Regions from separate parts of the Homo sapiens genome. Here regions 1, 2, 3 and 5 are each linked to region 4. The links are contacts of gene promoters, found by promoter capture Hi-C in human tissues and cell types (Jung and others, 2019). All regions are on one chromosome and are shown on one strand. Each heading gives the region's core, a stretch centred on a gene start or on the middle of the fragment in contact. The rest is flanking DNA. Distances are from core to core; before and after follow the strand shown.

Evidence for each region. The method cuts DNA at HindIII sites, captures the fragments that hold promoters and counts their contacts. A contact is called where the count stands out against the background at its distance.
Region 1: the fragment with the promoter of CBFA2T3 here is called in contact with the fragment with the promoter of RPL13 in region 4 in 2 of the 25 tissues and cell types used here (hippocampus and lymphoblastoid cells).
Region 2: a contact is called between the fragment with the promoter of APRT here and the fragment with the promoter of RPL13 in region 4, in 1 of the 25 tissues and cell types used here (spleen).
Region 3: the fragment with the promoter of PIEZO1 here is called in contact with the fragment with the promoter of RPL13 in region 4 in 3 of the 25 tissues and cell types used here (dorsolateral prefrontal cortex, lymphoblastoid cells and spleen).
Region 5: the fragment with the promoter of MVD here is called in contact with the fragment with the promoter of RPL13 in region 4 in 2 of the 25 tissues and cell types used here (adrenal gland and lymphoblastoid cells).

What each region holds. Positions count from the first base shown.
Region 1 is chr16:88,975,938-88,978,637 of GRCh38, forward strand. CBFA2T3 (CBFA2/RUNX1 partner transcriptional co-repressor 3) reads right to left here and starts at 1,270. Exons shown (of 12, transcript NM_005187.6): 1 at 720-1,270. The coding sequence starts at 870. RefSeq lists an enhancer at 1,642-1,691. The HindIII fragment of the contact is 13,654 bases long and covers 1-2,700 here.
Region 2 is chr16:88,810,678-88,813,377 of GRCh38, forward strand. APRT (adenine phosphoribosyltransferase) reads right to left here and starts at 1,251. Exons shown (of 5, transcript NM_000485.3): 1 at 1,143-1,251; 2 at 873-979. The coding sequence starts at 1,222. RefSeq lists enhancers at 1-120, 1,626-2,310, 2,311-2,700 and silencers at 1,004-1,403, 1,654-1,913. The HindIII fragment of the contact is 27,772 bases long and covers 1-2,700 here.
Region 3 is chr16:88,783,923-88,786,622 of GRCh38, forward strand. PIEZO1 (piezo type mechanosensitive ion channel component 1 (Er blood group)) reads right to left here and starts at 1,298. Exons shown (of 51, transcript NM_001142864.4): 1 at 979-1,298. The coding sequence starts at 1,042. RefSeq lists silencers at 127-446, 947-1,426, 1,467-1,796 and an enhancer at 529-1,442. The HindIII fragment of the contact is 3,328 bases long and covers 1-1,491 here.
Region 4 is chr16:89,559,185-89,561,931 of GRCh38, forward strand. RPL13 (ribosomal protein L13) reads left to right here and starts at 1,498. Exons shown (of 6, transcript NM_000977.4): 1 at 1,498-1,528; 2 at 1,756-1,879; 3 at 2,043-2,184; 4 at 2,394-2,567. The coding sequence starts at 1,776. SNORD68 (small nucleolar RNA, C/D box 68) reads left to right here and starts at 2,246; the gene lies at 2,246-2,317. RefSeq lists silencers at 1-159, 1,701-1,970, 2,031-2,080 and an enhancer at 1,481-1,590. The HindIII fragment of the contact is 11,945 bases long and covers 1-2,747 here.
Region 5 is chr16:88,661,699-88,664,398 of GRCh38, forward strand. It overlaps MVD (mevalonate diphosphate decarboxylase), which reads right to left and starts at 1,393. Exons shown (of 10, transcript NM_002461.3): 1 at 1,313-1,393. The coding sequence starts at 1,382. It overlaps SNAI3-AS1 (SNAI3 antisense RNA 1), which reads left to right and starts at 1,675. Exons shown (of 4, transcript NR_024399.1): 1 at 1,675-1,702. RefSeq lists silencers at 1,138-1,557, 1,898-2,057 and an enhancer at 1,638-1,687. The HindIII fragment of the contact is 7,255 bases long and covers 1-2,700 here.

The sequences.
Region 1 (2,700 bases), core at 20-2,519, 580 kb before region 4:
CGGCTGCTGGGAGTGTGGCCACGAGGGCCACTGGGAATCGGGGCCACCAGCCTGCAGCTGCAGCCCCCAGCGTCCGGGGATCCTTGTCCTGGGACTTCGCAGGCTCGGGTGGGGGGTATCAGCAATAGCTGGCGTCCTGCTGGACTGGACCCCTCCCCAGAGCCCGAAGCCCCCAGAAGGGCAGGCCCAGGTTCCCCGTAAACCCCCACTGCCCTGGCTGGAATCGTTCCTCGGACAGGGGCCCAGGGTTGGGTCCATTTCCTCCTCACCGGGGTCTTGGGCCAGTGCCCTCCCCTCTGGCCTCAGTTTCCTCATCCAACCTGCTGTGAGGTGTCACACCCGGAGGGCATCCCAGGAGGAGGAGGGCTCTCTTTCTAGGACCCCCCCATCACTTCCCGGCTGCGGCCCTCCCACCCCCAGGAGAACACAGCCCACCCTCCTAGACGGGGCTGAGCAGCCCGGCCTCCAGCATCTGCCTCTGGGTGGGGCTGGGGCACCTGGCTGGCACCTGCCAAACCCTCACCAGCCCACCTGCCCCAGCTGTGCAGGACCTGCCTGTGGGGTGGCCCTGTTGATATCTGAGGTGAGTCAACACGGCCATCCGTGCCGGCACTGTCAACTAAGCTGGGCAGGCCCCGCGAAGCTCTAAGGAGTCACAGCCCCGGCACCGGCTGCCGCTCTCTGCCCCCACCCCACCACCTTCCCCTCGAGCCTCTTACCTGGGCCGCCCTTCCTGGGACCCCGGGGTGCGGAGCAGCCGGCAGATGCCAGGAGGCCGCTCTCCAGCACAGGGTGCGTCTGGGACATGGAGCCACAGGTGGATCCCGAGGCTGAACTGGCTGCCCTGTCCCTCAGTCTTGAAGCCGGCATGAGGAGGGCCACCCTCAGGGGCCAACCTGGAGCCCAGGACAGGCCTCTACCAGGACTGCCTTTCCCGACCTCCTGCAGCCTTGAGGGAAAGAGGAGGGGCTGGGCCAGCTGGGGCGTCCTGGAGTTGGGCCTCTGTCCCTGGAAAGCCGAGGCCCTCCCGGCCACCAACTGGGTGTCCTCTGCCCTGGGGAGGGGGTGGGAGCCCTGGGGCTCATGTGACGCGGGGCGGGCCTGGGGCTGCAGGCTGGGGAAGGTCTCCCTGCAGCCTGCGGGTGAGGCAGCCAGCTGTGTCCCCGTGATAATGCCGGGGCCGGAGGCCTGCAGCTGCGCCCGCCACTTCCCTGACAGGAACCATCTGGGGCCCTGCCCTGCGCGGCCTTCCCTCGGGCCATTCCGGTTTGACCTTCCAACAACTTCCTCCTCCCAGGCAGCTCTGGTGACGTCCCACCCACCCTGAGCCCTACAGCGTGGCCACTGGGCATGTGTTTCCTCGGCCCCAGGGCAGGTGTGCAGGCCTGAGGGCAGCTCCATCCTGGCCCAGAGCCCTTGGCCTGTCCCGCCCACCCATCTTCCCCCCAGGGCTTGGCCCTTCCTTCAGCCTGGGGTATCTGGGGGTGTCCTCCCTCTCCGCTAGCCCTCAGTCAGCCGAGCTTTCCCCAGCACCCCTTTTAGTTTGCCCCCGCTCCAGGGGCCACCCTGCCCGTGTTCCTGTGTCTGCTGACTGTGCCCTTGAGCAAGGCGGGGCCTCTGACCAGCCTCTCCTCAGCCCCTGCTCCGGGGTTCTTGGGCACCTGACCTGTCCTCAAAGTACCTCCCGCCTGCTGGGAAGGAAACCCTCTCTCTCTGCTTGGCCTCGTGCACAGGGCTCCTGGCCCTCTGTGGAGACAGCAGGGCTCCCCCACTCTCCGGGGGTGCCTCAGAAAGACCCTCACCCCACGCCCCAGCGGCCGCCTCCGGTGAGCAGCCTGGAGTTTGCGGGGGTCGGGGGTAGGTGGCTTCTCCAGTCTGGGAAATTCCAGAAGCCACCTCAGAGCACTCTTGGGACTACTTAGACCCTAGGGAGAGTCCTAGGACCCCTTTCTAGCGGCCGTTGGGCTGAGAGAGTGAGGCACATCCCAGATGCTGGGAAAAAAAGCCACTTTCTAAAGCTCCCTGACAACTGTCAGAGGGCAGGAGCTTCCTGGGAGGGGACAGTGACCCTTCGGCCCTGCAGCCCTGGTTCGGTGGCTTTTCTGATGCCATGGCTGGAGGTTTCCCGGCCTCAGACAGGCCAGAGGTGTGGAGCCCGCAGACCCAGGGCCGGCTCACGGGCATCTGTGCTATTTTGATTTGATTTGATTTGAGTTTTAGGTCACGTTTGCACGCAGTTAATAATTCAAGCCGTGCAGGAGTAAAAGCCGACTCCTTCCCCGCAGGGTCTCCAGGTGTCCCGGGTCTCCCTGTCCCAATAGTCGAGTGTCTTTCTCGAGTTGGTGACAACAAGCTGCATGCCAGCGTGTGTGTCCAGCTTACAGTGGGGATGTGTTTGTTCCTGCTGGGGAACTTCCCAGACGCCAGGCCCACCCGGGGCCTCCCCTGCCCTGGGTGGTCGGCCGTTCTGCCCCCAGGACTGAGGCTGGAGGGGACATTCCTGCCAGCCCGGGGCCCATCCCCTGGTGCCATCATTCGGTCCCCACGTCCCCTGCTGTTCCCTGTGCTCTGGCTCAGGGTGGGATTCACAGTGAGGGTCCTGGGGGCCCTGACCCTCCTGGTTTCCTCATTTGTGCAGGGTGCACGATCCTAACGGCGTCAGCTCCTACAGCGTTTCCGGGAGTGGAGACAGCAGAGGCT
Region 2 (2,700 bases), core at 1-2,500, 750 kb before region 4:
AGGAATGTTACCCATCACCTACCCGGAGCTGCTTCCAGGTCAGAGTGCAGACCTGGGTCTGTCTTTTAAGGGACCACTTCTTAGCTGTGTGTTCCTAGGGGAGTCACCACCCCTCTCTCTGAGCTGAGCAGCCCATCTGTAACTGGGCTGGTAGAAACCTGACAGGCCTCAGCTTACTCTCAAAGGCAGCTCTGCACCAGGGCTTCTGTCTAAAAAGGGAGTCTCTCGAGGTGGCCTGAGCTGTGATGGTTGGGGGACGCTCAGGGAAACCCTGCCCCGGCCTGGCAGGAGGTCAGGGAGGGCTTCCTGCAGGAGGTGAGAAGGGAGCTCTGGCAGTGTTGTGGCTCCAGCAAGAGCTGGCGCTTTCCTCAGGGCAGTGTCCAGGGAGTGGGCTGTCACACCCTAGGAGAGGCAAGACGGCCAGGAACACTCTGTTCTCCCTGGGCCACCTCTTGGGCTCTCCCGGAGGCCTCCAGGCCTCCCTTCCCTGGGTGGGCATTCCGTGATCTTCACCAGGGAAGGCCTGGCTCGTGGCAGGCGCTCAATACCAGCTCGCAGAAGGAACAAGAAGCAAGGCAGCTGGGCCCTGTGGATTCAGCTTGGGCACTCCAGGGAGACCAACTGACCCGGCAACTCGGTCACGCCTGTCCTGGGCTGGGGACCCGGAACCTGCGGGAAGGACGCCTGCACAGCGCGGCGGCCTCGGGGGCTCAATCTCACAACCCTTCCCGGGCGACCCAAGCACGGCGCCCGTCCCGGCGCCCCCTGAAGCACCCCAAAGGCCCTCCCCCAAGCAGACGCGCAGAGCCCACGTGCTGCCCTCGGCGCGCGCAGAGGCGGAAGCGCCCTAGATGCGGCCACTGGGCACTCGCCTGCGATGTAGTCGATGCGGCCCCCGTGGGTCGCCTTCAGGTGTCGCGCCAGGAGGCCGATGGCGGCGCGGAAGGAGGCGGGGTCCTTCAGGACGGGCGAGATGTCCCTGGACCCAAGGACAGGCCTGGTGACGCCGGGGCCGAAGGAGGGCAGGGCCCCGGGGGCGAAAGACGAGGGTTCCCGCCCCGCCCGCCCGGAGGTCGCGGGCCACGCGCTCCCATCCGTAGGCCCGCAGGTCGGGGCGCCACGAGGGCGGCCTGTGCGTGCACCTGAATACCACGCCTGGGGTGGGGAAGTCGGGGAAGCTGCGGATCCGCTGCTCAACCAGCTGCAGCTCGGAGTCGGCCATGGCCGCGTGCGAAGAGCCAGCGGCAGCCCGAGCGCGCCTGCGCGGGGACGGGCGGGACCGCCACGAGGGGTGGGGCATCCCCGGAGGGCGGAGCGTGGGTGAGGGGCGGGGCATCCGTCGCCGGAAGCCTGTACCGTATTTCATGGACTCCTAGGCGCCATCGATTTTAAGACGCGCTCGCATTCCACGCACCACTGAGCAGAACGTTCGAACCGGACAAAAGTGCGAGTCAAGGCGCCCTTCCTTGTCTCGGGCTACGCTTCTGACTGCAGCCAGGCAGCTGTGGGCCGGGGCCTTGGCGGCTGGAGGAGGGGCGTGAGCTGGTCTCGCCCACGCACCTGGCGCGCGTACGGGCCGCGCCCTTTCTCCTTTATTGGCCGAGATCCCCACGCTGCGCGCGGGAGGCTGGCGCGCGGGGTGGAGAAGGGCGTGAGGAAGCGGTCCAAGTAGCAGGAGGGCGGTGCAGGGCCCGGAGGGAGCAGCCCAGGGCGGAGGCGGCGGGCCTGGGCTGGACCGGCCGGGGGCGCTGGCCTCTCGCGGATGGGCCCTGCCGTTGAGGCGGCTCTTCCCCGCCCGGACCCGGGGGAGGGAGGCCGGAAGGTGTGGCCAGGCCAGGGCGCGCATCCGCGAGGGCAGAAGCCCTTCTGTCCGCCTGCAGAGGCCAGGTGACCCCTTAGCCTTGGGGTGGGGAGCTGTGAACCCCCTGGCCGCCCGAGGACTGGTACCCAGGGGGTTGTGTGAGGCATAACTCCCCCCAAACACAATTTCCTTTCAAGAAAATCCCCAGAGCTAAAATGCCTTGTGCTCTATTCCAAGACTTTTCTTCATTTCGCAACTTTTTTTTGAGAAGGACTCTCGCTCTGTCGCCCAGGATGGAGCACAGTGGCGCCATCTGGGCTCACTGCAAGCTCCACCTCCTGGGTTCCGGCCATTCTCCCGCCTCAGCCTCCCGAGTAGCTGGGACTACAGGAGCCCGCCACCACGCCCTGCTAATTTTTTGTATTTTTAGTAGAGACGCAGTTTCACTGTGTTAGCCAGGATGGTCTCGATCTCCTGACCCCGTGATCTGCCCGCTTCGGCCTCCCAAAGTGCCGGGATTACAGGCGTGAGCCACCGCGCCCGGCCCATCATTTCGCAACTTTTACAATTCAGCTTTGGCCTGGCAGTTACTGCAGAAGGGAAAACCCACTCAGTGGAAGGCAGCCCCCAGGAGCCTTCGGAGGGGGAGGCCGGAGGCTGCATGCGGCTGCTGGGGCCCCGGTTCCAGGGCGGGTGGGGGACCCATCGTCTGATGCCAAGGGGCGTGGTAGGGGCGGCTGCCTCGCAGTGTGCGGTGGTCAGGGCTGGCAAGGCCTGGGGCCTGGGCTCCAGACCCCTAGGGAAGGTGGAAATGGAGGACCCTGACATCCTCACGTCCCCGGGGAAGCTGCCACATGAGCCGGCCCCACCGGTCCAAGTGTGTGAGCTACACTTCAGCC
Region 3 (2,700 bases), core at 48-2,547, 780 kb before region 4:
GCCCCACCTGCCGTGTCCATGGCGGACTCCCAATGCAAACCGTCCCACTTGTCCGTGGGTTAATTCCATCCGACTGCTTCCCAGATCAATCACACGTGGGGAGCCCCCGGGCGGAGGGCGCGGACCCTGGGTCCCGGCTAGGCCAGGGTCGGGGAAGGGTAGGGGTGCCAGGCCGTGCAGCACCAAGCCACCCGGGTGTGCTTCGCGAAAGGGGCACCACTGCCCGGCAAGCAGGGAACACAGATGCCAGGACTGGGGACCCCTGCCCCGCCCTGACACCAGGCCACAGCCTCCGGGGGTGTCCCCTCCCCCAGACCAGGGCAGAGGCCGGCCCCCGCCCCTGCGAAACTGAGCCCAGTAGGGCAAGGGAGGACCAGGGAGGAACCCACACTATTTTTTTCCAAAGTGTGGGACCGCCTCAGTCCGGCAGAGGGGGGTGCAGCGGTGAGCGGGGCTGGGCCCTGGGCACGGACGTTCGTTGGGCTCGGGAAGCTCCAAATTAAACAGCTCCAGGCAGGAAGCCCGCCTTCTCCCAGATTGTCAGGAAGTCCTGATGCAACTTTGCGCTTTTTTTTTTAAACCCGAAAGAGAAAAAGAGATTCGTGCTCCCCCCACCACCGCCGCGGCCCTTCCCACCGGGGCAAACACCGCCTCGCCCGGCGGCCTCCTCTCCGCAGCGCCCCGGCGGAGACGCCAGCCGCGCTATGCCCGGCGCTCGCTCGACCGCCCCCGTGGGCACGCGGTGCCGTCTCCCCCAGCCGCCGCCGCCCTTCCAGCCCGGCCCTGGGACAGGAGCCCCGCCGCCGCCTGGCGCGCTCATGCTTCAGGAATGCGGGCGCCCGGGTCGCGCGTCCCTGGGAATTTCCGCGCCCGCTCGCCCGCAGCCCTCGCCCCGGCCGGCGTCGTCCGGTGTCCAGGCCGTGGGGAGCCGAGACGCAGCCCCCTCCCGTCGCCCCCAGGCGCCCGCCCCCCACTCACCAGCCAGCAGCGCGCAGGGCAGCAGCAGCCAGTACAGGACCGCGCCGAGCACGTGCGGCTCCATGGCTGGAGGGCCCAGGGCCCGGCCCAGACCGAGCGGACGCCGCGGCGCTATGGGGCGGTGCGGGGGCCCCGGGGCCGGCGCGCCATGGCTGACCCGCGGGGACCCGCGCGCCGCCTTCTCCTCTTCCTCCTTCTCCTTCGGCCGCCCCGCCGGTGCCGACGTCCCGGGCCCGCGCTCGCTCAGGCGACCGCCCTGCCCCTCGGCGGAGCGCAGCGCTCGGCTCACTGGGGCCGAGCTGGGCCGGACGGCGGCTCCCGCCCTCCTCCGCCCGCGGGCCTTTATAAGCTCGGCCCCCTCCCGCCCTCCCCGGCGTGCCCGCCTCCGCGCTTCCCCGACGGCCCGGCGCGCCCAGGCACCCCCTCCGCTGTCCCGCGCGGCCCGTCCCGCCTCCGGCCCGCCCTGGTGCGTTGGGGCCTGGAGACCCCCGACTGGCGCTGGCCCGGAGCGGACCCCTCCCCTCCCGCAGTCTTGGCCCCGCGGCTCCGAGCGTGCGCGGCGGTGGGCAGGGGCGCTTCTCGCTGGGTGGGCTGCGGCTGGGGCCCGGGCGCTACATAAGGGGTCCCGGGGCCTCTGGCTCCCCCAGGCAGCGCCCCACGCGCAACTGCACCCCGCGTGCCCGAGCGACTTTCGCTTTGCTCCCCGAGGCGCGAGCACGCAGCGCCCCCTGGGGACCGTGGGGAGGCTCGGAGTTCCCGCGGCGGCCGGGCCTAGTGGTCCCGGAGGGAGCACGCGGGATGCTCGGGTCGCAGCAGTGCCGCGATCCGCGTTGGTCTGACGGGGGCTCGGGGGCTGCTCCCAGCCACGCCGGCCACCGCGCGCGGCTTTGCCCGGGTCGCTCTGGCGTGAGACGGTGAGAGTGAGAGCCACGGCCTGTGCACCTGCTGCCGCGGCGCCCTGCCACGGAGAGGTAGGGTCTGAGTCCAGGGTGTTCGGGACCCTCACCCAGGCCACGTCAGTTTGGCCTTCGTCTGCCCTTGAGATGGGCACAGAAAGAGGGCAAAGGGCTCTACACCGTTTAATTGGGCTCAGTTCATGGCTCTCAAACTCAGCTGCGTAAGGCAGGGAGTGGGGCTGGGGGGACTGTGGCCACTGAGCCTCAAGGCACTGGCAACTCATGAGAGCCCAGCACAAGCCCACACCCTCCAGCTCAAAAAAAAAAAAAAAAAAAAAAGATGGCGGGGCAGTGGCTCAGGCCTGTAATCCCAGCACTTTGCGGGGCTGAGGCAAGGGGGTAGGGGGTCGGGGGATCACTTGACGTCAGGAGTTCGAGACCAGCCTGGCCAACATGGTGAAACCCCGTCTCTACTAAAAATACAAAAATTAGGCCGGGCGCGGTGGCTCACGCCTGTAATCCCAGCACTTTGGGAGGCCGAGGCGGGTGGATCACCAGGTCAGGAGATCGAGACCATCCTGGCTAACACGGTGAAAACCCATCTCTACTAAAAACATAAAAAATTAGCCGGGCGTGGTGGCGGGCTCCTGTAGTCCCAACTACTCGGGAGGCTGAGGCAGGAGAATGGCATCAACCCAGGAGGCGGAGCTTGCAGTGAGCCGAGATAGCGCCACTGCACTCCAGCCTGGGCGACAGAGCCAGACTCCGTCTCAATAAATAAATAAATAAATAAATAAATAAATAAATAAATATACAAAAATTAGCC
Region 4 (2,747 bases), core at 248-2,747:
TAGAGTGCAGTAATGTGATCTTGGCTCACTGCAACCTCTGCCTCCCCAGTTCAAGCAATTCTGGTGACTCAGCCTCCTAAGTAGCTAGGATTACAGGCATGCGCCACCACGCCCAGCTTTTTTGTATTTTTAGTAGAGACAGGGTTTCACCATCTTAGCCAGGGTGATCTCAAACTCTTGACCTCGGCTGATCCGCCCACCTCAGCCTCCCAAAGTGCTGGAACTGTGAAATTCTTAAAATGTGGATTACGTTGGCCAGGCACGGTGGCTCACGCCTGTAATCCCAGCACTTTGGGAGGCCCAGGCGGGCGGATCGCGAGGTCAGGAGATCGAGACCATCCTGGCTAACACAGTGAAACCCCGTCTGTACTAAAAATACAAAAAATCAGCTGGGCGTGATGGTGGGCGCCTGTAGTCCCAGCTACTTGGGAGGCAGAGGCAGGAGAATGGCGTGAACCCGGGAGGCAGAACTTGCAGTGAACAGAGATCGCACCACTGAACTCCAGCCTGGGCAACAGAGGGAGACTCCGTCTCAAAAAAAAAAAATAATAATAAGTTTTACCAGGAGGAAGCGTGGTGATTGGGTGAGGGTAGGGAAGAAAGAGGGTTATTGGGATTTAAAGGTTTCCAGGTAGCAGTAAGATGGATGGTGCCTTCACAGACTTATACTAGAGAAGAGATGGCTTTTTGTTGATGCTTTTCTTTGTGAAGGAAGGCAGTAGGCACAGCAGGTCAGAGTGTGACATTTTCAGTCGGGTACCCCTGACCTTAGAGAAGTCACCTAATCCTGGGCCAAGGGAAAGCGACAGAGGCCAACAGTAACTCCGTCTACTAAAATACCAAAAATTAGCAGGGTGTGGCGGCGGGCGCCTGTAATCCCAGCTACTCGGGAGGCTGAGGCAGAATTGCTTGAACCTGGGACGCGGAGGCTGCAGTGAGCCGAGATCGCGCCATTGCACTCCAGCCTGGGCGACGGAGCGAGACTCCGTCTCCAAAAAAAAAAAACAAAAAAAAAAACCACAAATGTTCTAAATGGATGGGAGGAGAATAAACGCTGGAACGACAAGGACGAAGGCCTTAGGTTGCGCAAACTCGGATGTCACTGAAGTTTTTCTGCCTTTGCGCTGCAAACGTGTCTCACAAATGTGAACAAACAGAATTCCTCGGGCGTCGCCCGTTCGCCGTCGGCCCAGATACCGGACTCGCGCGCGTTAGCCCGCAAGACAGGACTCGGCCGCGGCCCGCGCAGCGGCTGAAGCGCCGGGGCAGTAACGGCGGACGTCAAGCAAGTCCGGCCGTCGGTTACTCAGGGCCCAGGAATCACGGCCGCCCCGCCGCATTCTCAGCGGCAACATGTCTGCGACGGCGGCCCTAGGGCTGCCGGGAGAGCCGCGGCGACGTCAGTTCCTCCTTTCGGGGCTCTGATTGGTCAGAGCGCCCGGCGCTTCTGGTTGGCCGGCCCTGCTATCATCCCAGAGTGCATTGCGGGGCCGCTTCCTTTCCGCTCGGCTGTTTTCCTGCGCAGGAGGTGAGGGAGACTGGGTCCTGGCCTTTGGGCATCATCCAGCGCCATCGGCCTGGCGCTTCAGCCAACGCGGGAGTGGATGGGCCCCTTCTTCTTCGCAGACAGCGTTCGGCCGCTGCCCGGGCTCTAGGCGCGGCCGGACGGCCCAGTCTGGAGGGTTCGGGGCGGAGGCCCGGGGGGGTGCGCGCGCCCGGGGTCCGGCCTCTCACTCGCTCCCCTCTCGTCCGCAGCCGCAGGGCCGTAGGCAGCCATGGCGCCCAGCCGGAATGGCATGGTCTTGAAGCCCCACTTCCACAAGGACTGGCAGCGGCGCGTGGCCACGTGGTTCAACCAGCCGGCCCGTAAGATCCGCAGGTGAGCCCTGCGCTCGGGGCTGCCCCTGGGGCTCGTGCCCGCGGCTGCGCCTTGGCTTGCGGGTGGCCGATGCCAGGGCGGGGGGCGCTGTCTGCAACCGTCGCGGAGCGCTGGCCTGGCGGCCTTAGGCAAGGGTGACCGCCGCTGCGCTTCTCTCCACCAGACGTAAGGCCCGGCAAGCCAAGGCGCGCCGCATCGCCCCGCGCCCCGCGTCGGGTCCCATCCGGCCCATCGTGCGCTGCCCCACGGTTCGGTACCACACGAAGGTGCGCGCCGGCCGCGGCTTCAGCCTGGAGGAGCTCAGGGTGAGTACTGGCAGCGCTGCGGTGTCAGGAAGGCCCCGAAGTCCCCTCTGTTGGCCTCAGTCGCGTGATGACATTCTCCGGAATCGCTGTACGGCCTTGATGAAAGCACATTTGAACCCTTTTCCATCTGATTGCTGAGGCTTTTCATCCAGGCCTCGGGGCTGGAGAAAGCCCGGGCCTGTCTCCATCTCTCTCTGGTTCTGGGGCAGGTGGCCGGCATTCACAAGAAGGTGGCCCGGACCATCGGCATTTCTGTGGATCCGAGGAGGCGGAACAAGTCCACGGAGTCCCTGCAGGCCAACGTGCAGCGGCTGAAGGAGTACCGCTCCAAACTCATCCTCTTCCCCAGGAAGCCCTCGGCCCCCAAGAAGGGAGACAGTTCTGTGAGTACACGGCTCTCTGGCCGTCCTGGTGCGCGGGGACAGTGAGGCTTGGCTCCTTTATCAGTGACACCGGTCCCTGGGTCTTGCTGGGGTGAGAAGAACCAAAACATTGTGGGTGATGAGCTAAGCGGGACTGCTAAGGTTCACCTGTGCGTTTCCGCAGAGATAACCTTAATGGAC
Region 5 (2,700 bases), core at 143-2,642, 900 kb before region 4:
ACCCTGCCAGCACATCCCTACCAGGACGCGGCTAAAATGAAAAACAGCAACTCCACCAAATGCTGGTGAGGATGCGGAAAATCTGCATCACCGTAGGGATGCAAAATGGCCCAGCCACTCTGAAAAACAATTAGACAGTTTCTTTAAAAAAAAAAAGTATATATATAATATATATATGTATATATACACACACATACATCTATATAGGTGTATACATATACACACACATATATCTATACAGGTGTATATATATATACACACACACAAACATACATATATACATAGAAAGAGAGAGAGAGACAGAGAGGCATATATATATATCTACCATCTGACCCAGCAACCGCACTCCTGGGCATTTATCCCAGAAGAATGGAAATGTATGTTCACACAAAAACCTGTATACAACATTTTATGGCAGCTTTATTGGTAAGGGAAACACAAAAAAATTAGCCAGTCGTGGTGGCGGCTTCTGGAAAGAAAAGAAAGAAAGAAAGAAAACGTTAGATGCTCTTTGCGGGGTGAGGCCTTGGCTAGAGAGAGGGTGGTCCATGGATTCCACGGACTGGCTCAGCAACAGAGGGGCAAAGCACTGATACAATCCCGGGGCACGTCCACATTCTATGCTGAATGAAATAAGCCAAACTCAAAAGATACTGGGTGGGCCACATAACTGCGATTCCAGTTTCAGAACATTTTGAAATGACGTTACAGAAATGAGTGGTCAGTGGCGGCCAGGTAACCCCGGCGCGAGGGGAGGGGCGGGGCTGTGAACGCACAGGTGCGGACCGGCCTCCCCGGCACGGATGTGGGCCTGCGGGCCCCCCATTACCGCTCCTTGGAGGTTACCGCTGGGAGAAACGGGGCGAGGGAGGGACACAGGGTCTCGGGCTGGGGGAGCAGTGGCGCGATTTCCGCTCACTGCAGCCTCGACCTCCCGGGCTCTGGCCATCCTCCCGCCTCAGCCTCCCGAGTAGCTGGAGCCACAAACGCGCACCACCACGGCGGATTCTTACGATTCATGGGAATCGATGATTGATGATTTCGATAGTTCGGTAATCGCTAATGGGCAGGCGCCGGGCGACCCTGCAGGGGCGGCAGCCGTCGCGGGGGAACGGGTGGCGCCGAGCTTGTCACGCGAAGGAGCGCGCGGCCCCGCCCGACCACCGCCGCGCCCCTCCCTGAGCCTCAGTTTCCCCGTCTGTCGAGGCCCTGGGAGGGCAGGACGGAGCGCGCCGCCGAATCAGCGCGCGACCCCCGCGTACCCGGCCTCGCTCCCGGCCATCCCCGTCCCAGGCCGGCCCGCGGCACTCACAGTACTTGATGACCGCGATGTTGACCGGCGCTGTACAAGTGACTGCCGCCAGCGGCTTCTCCGAGGCCATGGTCCCACCGCGCAGTGACCCCAGCTCCACAGCCACTTACGGCCCGCGATCCCACCCCAGAGGCCTCTGCCTCCTCACGCGCTACCACAGGATTGGCCCGTGCGAGCCCGGCTGCTCGCGCGCCGACCAATCAGCGGCGAGTCGGGCGCACGCATTACCTCTCAGCCAATGGACGGGATCGGACGATGGGTTGCTGACGTAGGTCCGCCCCACCCGCAGGGTGCGCTCGCCAGGCCTGGGGCGTGGTGTTGTCTGCGCAGGCGCCGTGTGCCCAGGCGCCTGGCGTCCGCGTCGGCGATCCGGGGTCTGGGCGCGGCGAGGTGGGCGCTGTTGCCTGTGGGGGCTACCTGTCTGCTGGTGCTGTGCGGGCTTGTGCGGGGCTGTGCGGCAGCTGTGTGGGGCCCGTGAGGAGCTGTGCGGGGGGCTGTGCGAAGGGCTGTGTGAGGCGCTGTGCTGGGGGCTGTGCGGAGACCTTGAGGCGCTGTGCGGGGTCCGTGAGGCTCTGTGTGGGGCGCCGTGTGGGAGACTCTGCGGGGGCCGTAAAGGGTCCGTGAGGCGCTGTGTGCGGGTTGTGAGGCGCTGTGCGGGGACCATGAAGGGGCCGTGGGGCGCTGTGCGGGTGCCGTGGGGCGCTGTGTGGGAGGGAGGCTGTGCGGGGCCGTGGGACGGTGTGCGGGGCTGAGGGGAGGGCGGGTCGCGCTGTGCCCTCCTTGAAGCTCTTGGACGGCCCCGCTGGGTATGGGGGTGCACACAGGCCCGAGGGCAGGCGCTGGAGGATGTATCCCGGGATCCACTCTTAACCCGGCAGCCGAAGGCACCCTGTCCCGCCGCCCACAGCCTTCTCCGCGCCATGTCCTGGGCCAGGATCCCCCGCCACGGGGCTCACACGAAAGACCCCGGGGCGGGGAAGCCCCGCAGCCCGGAGCTGGGTCCAACCTGCATTAAGGTGGGCGTCTCAAATACCCCCTGTAAGGCCCTGTAGGAGCAAAGCCTTGGACTGGGTTGCGGCGCTTGTGTGTGCATTGACTTCTCCTGTGAAACGTACAGGAACATTTAAGCGTGCCGTTCCCTGCCATTCATTCCAATCATGTGCCACGCCCCCACTATTTCTAGAGTTTTCTCACCCCAAACAGAAACTCTGTCCCCTTAAAACAATGACTTCCCATTTTCCCCTTCCCCTTTTAAAATTTTACCTTTAGTTTTTAAATAGCTCAGATTGGCTGGGCATGGTGGCTCACACCTGTAATCCCAGCACTTTGGGAGGCCGAGGTGGGCGGATCACGAGGTCAGGAGTTTGAGACCAGCCTGGCCAACATGG